Regions from separate parts of the Homo sapiens genome. Here region 2 is linked to region 1. Evidence: promoter capture Hi-C in 16 types of primary human blood cells and fetal thymus (Javierre and others, 2016). All regions are on one chromosome and are shown on one strand. Each heading gives the region's core, a stretch centred on a gene start or on the middle of the fragment in contact. The rest is flanking DNA. Distances are from core to core; before and after follow the strand shown.

Region 1 (3,944 bases), core at 761-3,260:
GGAGTAGACAGGACAATAACGTCCCATGTACTCTTTTTTTTGAGACCAAGTCTCGCTCTGTCGCCCAGGCTGGAGTGCAGTAGCGCCATCTCGGATCACTGCAAGCTCCGCCTCCCGTGTTCACGCCATTCTCCTGCCTCAGCCTCCCGAGTAGCTGGGACTACAGGCGCCTGCCACCACGCCCGGCTAATTTTTTTTTTTTTTTTTTTGTATTTTTAGTAGAAATGGTCTAGGATGGCCAGGATGGTCTCGATCTTCTGACGTGATCCGCCCGCCTCGGCCTCCCAAAGTGCTGGGATTACAGGCGAGACCCAGAGTCTCGCTGGGTGGCCCAGGCTGGAGTGCAGTGGCTCAATCTCGACTCAATGCAACCTCTGCCTCCAGGGTTCAAGTGATCTTCGTGCCTCAGCCTCCCAAGTAGCAAGGATTACAGGCACCCCCCATAACCCCTGGCTAATTTTTGTAGTTTTAATAGAGGCAGGGTTTCACCATGTTGCCCAGGCTGGTCTCAAGCTCCTGACCTCAGGTGATACACCAGCCTCGGCCTCCCAAAGTGCTGGGATTACGGGCGTGAGCCACCGCGCCCAGCCCCATGTACTCTTCATGCCAGTTACAACCACCACCAACTCATGGCCAATCCCGATTTATCCATAACTCCAGTCAAATGTGTAAGTGCTATTATGGAGAGATCAGGAAAAGCCTCTCAGATTGACATCTGTACCAAGATATGAATGGTGAGCACAAGAGTAGGTATTCAAAGGTCAGAGGGAAAAGCATTTTCAGGCGGAGGGAACGGCAAGAGCAGAGGCCCGAGCTGGTAAAGAGTTTGGGGTAAGGTGGAGCTGGACAGAAATGGAGGGAGGAGGAAGTAGGTGGGGTCAGAAAGATAAGCACGGCCAGACCAGGTGTATAGCCCTGAGGCCATGATAAAGATTTTTGGATTTTTTTTTTTTCCTAATGGGATCCCTTTGGGGGAGTTTTAAGCCAGAATGTGACAAAGTCACTTACAGGAAGACTGGAATGTAGCCATAGTTGAACTCTAACATCGTCTATAGAACCATTTCCCGTCTCCAGTTAGGTTCTAGGCATACTAAGCTGCTCTTGCTTCCTCAATCAAAACATGCGCTTCTATTTTTTTTTTTTTTTTTTTGGCCTCTGGGCCTTGGCGCTTGCAGTTCATTCTGCCAGACCCATTCCCATTCTAGTTGGCTCCTATTCGTACTTGGCTTAAGGATCACCACCTCCTGGAAGTCTTTCTAGAACCAGAGGCCGGGGCAAGCGCCTCTTAGGCTCCCACAGCCCCCTGTGTTCCTCACTCCAGGTCTGACCTTCTGGGTAGTAGTTGTCTAATTAGGTGCGTATCTCCTTCGACTGGGGTGCCGTGAGTACAGGAGTATGGTTCACTGCAGAAACCACAGAATCCGCCAGCATGGGGCCTGACACCTAGGAGATCAATAAACCTTTATCCTGGTTGGGAGGGGTCCTGGCCCTCGTGCCCTCTCTCAGGATGCAAACTGATCCCCTACGAAGACAAGGCTACCCACTTCGCGTCAGTCTGCAGTCCCTGCGCGCATGCGCTTTGCTCAGGTTGCCCCCGCCATATGCTAATCACTGCGCTCTGGAGTAAGGCCCCTCCGGGGAATATGCAAATCACTCCTTCCAGTGCGGGAGGCCTTTCATTGTCCCGCGCTAGGATTATGCAAATAAGCAGGCCTCGGGCCCAGGATCCAGTCCGAACTAGCGCCCTCCACCCCCAGCGCATCCCAGTTTTGTAAGGCGCGTTCCTGCCCCGCACACGCACGCGCGAACCCTTCAGCTTCTTGTTCCTTTGGGCCGCGGGCTGTACCAAGTAAACCCAGGCAGCGAGGGGCAAAGCACGGCGCCCCCCGCGCGGGTCTCGTCGACGGCCCGACGCGCATAGCCCCTCTTCCCACAGCGCTACAGGACTAGTCCGTCTCGCCGCGCAAGCGCCCTAGGCTCTTCACGCCCCCTGCGCGCTGTCCTACCCTACTTGCGACGCAGGCGCAGAGGCTGGGCGTGCAGCCGCCGCCGCAGAGCCGGAGCGGGGGCCGCCGGCGCCGGTGAGTGTCCCGGGCAGGGGTGCGCGAGGCATGCCGGGAAGCGGGCGCTACGGCCCCGCTGCATGATGGGAGCGACGACTCCCGTCACCGGGGAGCCGGCGGTCTGGGGCCGTGGTGACCCGAGGGCTTCTTTTTCTCCCCCTACGCGTTTGTGCCGCCCTGGGGCATCCTGGGAGAACCGAGCGCTCCGCCTTGAAGCGCTGTGGGAGTCGGTCCGCTAGTCGTAGGCCTGGTGCATCCTGGGAAAGAGTGTCCCAGATCCTTGTCGAGACCGGTTCCTTTTATCCCACACCTGCCGCTGACCGTCCTGGAGGCTTGGAGCGCTTCCACACGGGGAGTCTGGGAAGGTGGTCGCTATAGGCCTAAGGCATCCTGGGAAGAACTGCCACAACGAATTGTGGGAACTGGCCGTTATTGTCCCGTAGTGGAAGGTTTTGCCCTGGTCTCTTTGCTCGAGCATTGGAACGGGTGCCTATTGTGTTCACGCGGGGCATCTTGGGAATTGACTGCTATAGGCCCAGGGCATTGTGGGGTCTCCAGCACTGTGTTTGCCTTTCAGTTTGGCTGCCATAGGCGTGGTAGGAGTGGGACTTGTGAACCAAGGGATGGCCCTACCTGACGTCTGGAATACTCTGGAAGGGGCCTTGTGTGACGTGGGCTTGGAAAAGTGTAGGCTGATGGGCATTGTCTCCTGGTAACTTCAGGGAATGTCTTGATTGTCCCAGGTGTGTGGTTGCCGTATAAAATATACAATGTCTAGTTAAATTTGAATTTCAGATAAACAATTATATCCAAAAGATACAACCTTTTAGAAAAGTATGTCCCAAATATCACATGGAACATAGCTATATTAATTCTTTGGGCTAGTTGCAGTGATACCAATACTTTGGGAGGCTAAGGCAGGAGGATCGCTTGAGACCAGGAGTTCAAGACCAGCCTGGGCAATATAGTGAGACCCCCGTCTCTACAAAAAAAAAAAAAAAAAAAAAAAGTAAAAATTAAGCCTGGCATGGTGGCGCATACCTGTAGTCCCAGCTGCTCTCCTAGGGGCTAGTAGGGTACCTTGAGCACAGGAGTTTGAGGTTACAGTGAGCTAACCTCCCAACCTGGTTATGGGGGAGTACATGAGTTAAGGCCTGGAAGCCCCTTTCCTACAGATCACCCTACTGCACTCCAGCCTGGGCAACTGAGCGAGACCCTGTCTCTTAAAAAATATAAATAAGTAGGCTGGGCGCGGTGGCTCACGCCTGTAATCCCAGCACTTTGGGAGGCCGAGGCGGGTGGATCACGAGGTCAGGAGATCGAGATCATCCTGGCTAACACGGTGAAACCCCATCTCTACTAAAAATACAAAAAATAGTCGGGCGTGGTGGCAGGCGCCTGTAGTCCCAGCTACTCGGAAGGCTGAGGCAGGAGAATGGCGTGAACCCAGGAGGCGGAGCTTGCAGTGAGCCGAGATCGTGCCACTGCACTCCAGCCTGGGCGACAGAGCAAGACTCCGTCTCAAAAAAAAAAAAAAAAAAAAAAAAAAAGCCGGGCATGGTGGCACGCGCCTGTAGTCCCAGCTACTTGGGAGGCTGGGGCAGGATAATCGCTTGAACCCAGGAGGCAGAGGTTGCAGTGAGCCGAGATCGCGCTACTGCGCTCCAACCTGGGCGACAGAGTGACACTCCGTCCCAAAAAAGAAAATTAAATAAATAAATAAATAAGGGCCAGGTGTGGTAGCTCATGCCTGTAATCCCAGCACTTTGGGAAGTGGGAGGCCAAGGCAGGAGGATTGTTTGAGCCAGGAATTTGACAGCAGCCTTCGCAACATAGTGAGACACCATCTCCGCAACAAAAACCCAAAAACAAACAAAAAAA
Region 2 (3,944 bases), core at 526-3,025, about 12 Mb before region 1:
CAGATCCCCCCTAAACACACAACCCCCACATGCACACCCATGCACACTCAGACTGACACACGCAGATGCCCCTGCCCATATGTACAGAGACCCCCTACACACACACATCTCTTTGGGCCCAGAGAAGGCTGACTGATTGGCAGCCGGGATCACCCTAAAGGCTTAGCACCGTGGGGAGCCGCTTCACCTCTAGCCCTCAAGGAGGAAAAGTCAAAGCTTCCCGCCAGCCCGAGGTCCCGCCCTCCACCCCCACCTCGACCCAGCCTCGGTCTCCGCCCCCTGCCTCCCCGGCAGCCTTCGGGAGTGGTCAGGAGGCTCCGGGTGAAGCCCCAGGCAGCCTGGAGGCGGGTGACGGGAGGGAGGGCAGGGGAGGGATCCCAGCACCTGCTCCCTCTCCAAGGATTCCAGGGGAGGGGGGCTCAGAGGACAAAAGCGGGGGTGGGGAGGGGAGCAAAGGAAGACTATGGGGAGGCAGCACAGGTCAATATTTACAAAAACATTTTTTTAAAGCGGAGCCAGGAGAGAACGGAGAGATGAAGAAAACCACCCAAACCCCTAACCCGGACGGAGGGCCAGCCTCGTCCCCGCACCACGGCGCTCGAGGCTCATCCGCGCCCAGGAGAGGAGGAGATGGGGCAGGGCAAGGAGCGGGAGCTGCAGAGACGGCTGTGGAGGGGTCGGGGACAGACTGCGAGGCTGCGGGAGAGAAAGAGGGGGCGCTGCAGGAGGACGCCAGGGACAGCGGGGAAGCTGGAGAGGGGGCTGGGGGCAAGGAGAGAAACGCACAGCGGTGGGCACGGCAGGGGGCTGTGGGAGGGAGAAGGCTGCAGCCGGGCCTGGGGGCGCTCAGAGGGGTGTGAGGAAGGGATGGGGGTGCCAGGGAGGACAGAGAGCGGGGAATGGCCTAGGGACTCAGGGAGGAGCCAGACGGGAGACCTGGGTCGGGGGGCGGTCCAGGGATGGCGGAGAAGATCCTGGGTGTCCAGTGAGTGAAGGGCCTGAGAGGGCGGACAGGGGCCCAGGGATCCAAACGGGCTTGGTGGGGTCCTGGGGGATCCAGGAAAGGGAGACCCTAGGGAAGGGCCTGGGGACCCAGGGAGGCGCCTGGGTAGGCGGTGAGAGCCCAGGGCAAGGGACCTGGAGGGTCAGAGGCCGACCTCAGGGTCCAGGGAGTGCCAGGAGAGGGACAGAGGGGTCAGGGAGAGGTTCTAGGGCACAGAAAGACCTAGAGGGTCCAGAAGGAGGCCTGGAGGGTGAGAGGAGGTCGGGGATTGGCCCTGGGAGTGCAGGGAGGTCCCGGGGGTGAGAGAAGGGTCAGGGAGAGGCCCTGAGGGTGCAGGGAGAGACCTGGGGGTGCAGGGAGAGGCCTGGAGGGTGAGGTCAGGGAAAGGCCCTGGGGGGTGCAGGGAGAGGCCTGGAGAGTGACAAGAGGTCAGGGAGAGGCCCTGAGGATGCAGGGAGGGCCGTGGACGTAAGAAGGGGGTCAGGGCCCGGGTGAGGAAGCACAGGAAGGAGGCTGCAGTGCCGCGGAGCCCGAGGCCCGGCGAGGGGCCGGGAGACGTGGGCGCCTGGACACGAGGAGGGGCCGGGCGGGGTGGGGGGCAGTCGGGGCAGGGGGCGACTGGGGAGCCAAGGCGGCGCGGGGCTGGGGCCGTGAAGGGGCTCAGAGATCGGGCCCCGCGCCGCCCCTCACCCGCTTCTCCTCCTCCTCCTCAGGCGCCCGCGCCGCCGCCGCCAACACCTCCCACAGCCTCCTTCGGCTCTCGTCAAACACTGTCGCCGCACCTCCCATCTGCTCTCCGGGCCAGCCCCGCCAAGGCCACTGAGGCTTTCTATTGGCCACAGCCACCGCCACTCCTCCGTTGCTACGAAGCTCACGGCGCTCCCATTGGCCAAGCCCCACTCTTTCCCTCCGCGCCCGGCTCTCGTCAATACACAGATAAAACCCCGCCACGCCCCCGCCGCCGTCAAACGCCGCGAACTGTTGTCAGTGGTTCACATCGCTGTCCTTTAGTCGCTGCCATGGAGACTTGTCCCGCCTTCGCTCACACTGGGGCTCGAAATCGACGCACTCATTGGCCGAAAGCGCAGTCTCTCCGGGCGAAACTCGGTTTGGGTCGGGTTATTCAGGTCCAAGTGGAAAGAGGGCGGGCTCTGCCAGCTCCAGTAGTCGTATATGATTGCCTGGCCTTGGGACAGCTCCTCTTTCCATTGGGTAAGGCCTCCGTCCATCACCATAGAGTCGCGGCCTCCCTCTTCTATTTCTCCGAGGAAAGCTTCGGCCACAGGAGGGAGAAAGCCAGACCCGGCGGGAGGGAGGCGGTGAATGCGCGCGCACCGCCATCCCTCTCCCCTCCCGCCCCGCGAGGCCTGCGGTTACCAAGGCGACGAAACTTTATTGACAGCTCTGCCTGGCTACAAAGGGCTCCTCAGTCTCTCTCCCTCCCTCCCCGTTTACACCGTTGCGTTTTGGGAGTATCCACACGCACTCTGTGGGACCTTCCCGCGATATGAACGGGGTCGGATGGAGGGAGGGGAGGCTGAGGGAGGAGTGGGGACTTTTGAGACAAGCCCTGACTCCTGGGGCGCTCCCCTGGGGCACCCCCTAATTGGGATCACCCCCCCTACCTCAATCCTAGAGGCAAACGTAACTAACAATTCATCATAATTACGCCGAGAATAATAAGCTCCACACTCAGAACAGGCGGTCTTTGTTTGCTTGTTTGTTTGTTTCGCCACAGCCATTCTTCCCTTAACGACACTGATACCATCTGGGCAGTGCGTGCTCAGGCGATGTCGTCATCCTGCCAGCATCCTAGAGCAACATCACTCACACCTACGTGGCAGGGCTGCTGGCACCTGGGCTGTAAGGTGGCCGGCGGCTCCTGGGCCACACAGCTGTGCAGCATGTTACTGTCCGGTAACACAATGTAGGCGCTTGTGTGTCTACACATATAGGATCACTGTCAGACATGCGCTCCACTGTACAGCTATAGATCGTGGGCACTTAAAACAATGCATGCCACAGAGTAGGTGCTGTTTTGGTGTGCTGTTTTTGGTGTTTTGGTGTGTGTGTGTGTGTGTGTGTGTGTGTGTGTGAGAGAGAGAGAGAGAGAGAGAGAGAGAGAGAGAGAGAGAGAGAGAGAGAGACAGAGACAGAGTATCGCTCTCTCGCCCAGGCTAGAGTGCAGTGGAGTGATCTCGGCTCACTGCAGCCTCTGCTTCCCAGGTTCAAACGATTCTCCTGCCTCAGCCTCCCAAGTAGCTGGGATTACAGGCATGCACTACCACCCCTGGCTAATTTTTTTTTAGACAGAGTTCCCTCTTGTTGCCCAGGCTGGAGTGGAATGGTGCGATGTCGGCTCACTGCAACCTCCGCCGCCCAGGTTCAAGCGATTTTCCTGCTTCAGCCTCCCAAATAGTTGGGATTACAGGCATGCACTACCATGCCCGGCTAATTTTTTTTTTTTTTTTTTTTTTTAGTAGATACGGGGTTTCACCATGTTGGTCAGGCTGGTCTCGAACTCCTGACCTCAGGTGATCCACCCACCTCAGCCTCCCAAAGTGCTGGGATTACAGGCATGAGCCACCATGCCTGGCCTGTATTGTGTTTTGAGACAGGGTCTTCCTCTGTTGCCCAGGCTGGAGTGCAGTGGTGCAAGGATGGCTCACTGCAGCCTCGACCTCCTGGGTTCAAGCGATCCTACAGCCTCAGCCTCCTGAGTAGCTGGGACCACAGACGCATGCCACCATGCTCGGCTAATCCTTTAATTTTTGTAGAGACAGGGTCTCTCTAGGGGCTCATTCAAGTGATGCTCCCTTCTTTTTTTTTTTTTTTGAGAGAGGGTCTTGCTCTGTCGCCCAGGCTGGAGTACAGTGGTGCGATCTCGGCTCTCTGCCTCCCGAATTCAAGTGATTCTCCTGCCTCAGCCTCCTGAGTAGCT

What was found. Contacts are between HindIII fragments. The CHiCAGO score rates a contact against its expected background, and 5 or more counts as called.
Region 2: the fragment with the promoter of KMT5C here is called in contact with the fragment with the promoter of ZNF428 in region 1 in 1 of 17 cell types (naive CD8 T cells); the score reaches 6.4 in naive CD8 T cells.

Annotation. Positions count from the first base shown.
Region 1 is chr19:43,617,695-43,621,638 of GRCh38, reverse strand. ZNF428 (zinc finger protein 428) reads left to right here and starts at 2,010. Exons shown (of 3, transcript NM_182498.4): 1 at 2,010-2,081. LOC105372411 (a long non-coding RNA gene) reads right to left here and starts at 2,578. Exons shown (of 4, transcript XR_001753942.2): 1 at 2,007-2,578. RefSeq lists a silencer at 1,957-2,196 and an enhancer at 2,001-2,651. The HindIII fragment of the contact is 4,307 bases long and covers 1-3,944 here.
Region 2 is chr19:55,337,707-55,341,650 of GRCh38, reverse strand. KMT5C (lysine methyltransferase 5C) reads right to left here and starts at 1,775. Exons shown (of 9, transcript NM_032701.4): 1 at 1,694-1,775. RefSeq lists silencers at 199-378, 1,624-1,683 and enhancers at 1,704-1,773, 2,083-2,856, 2,857-3,631. The HindIII fragment of the contact is 2,060 bases long and covers 219-2,278 here.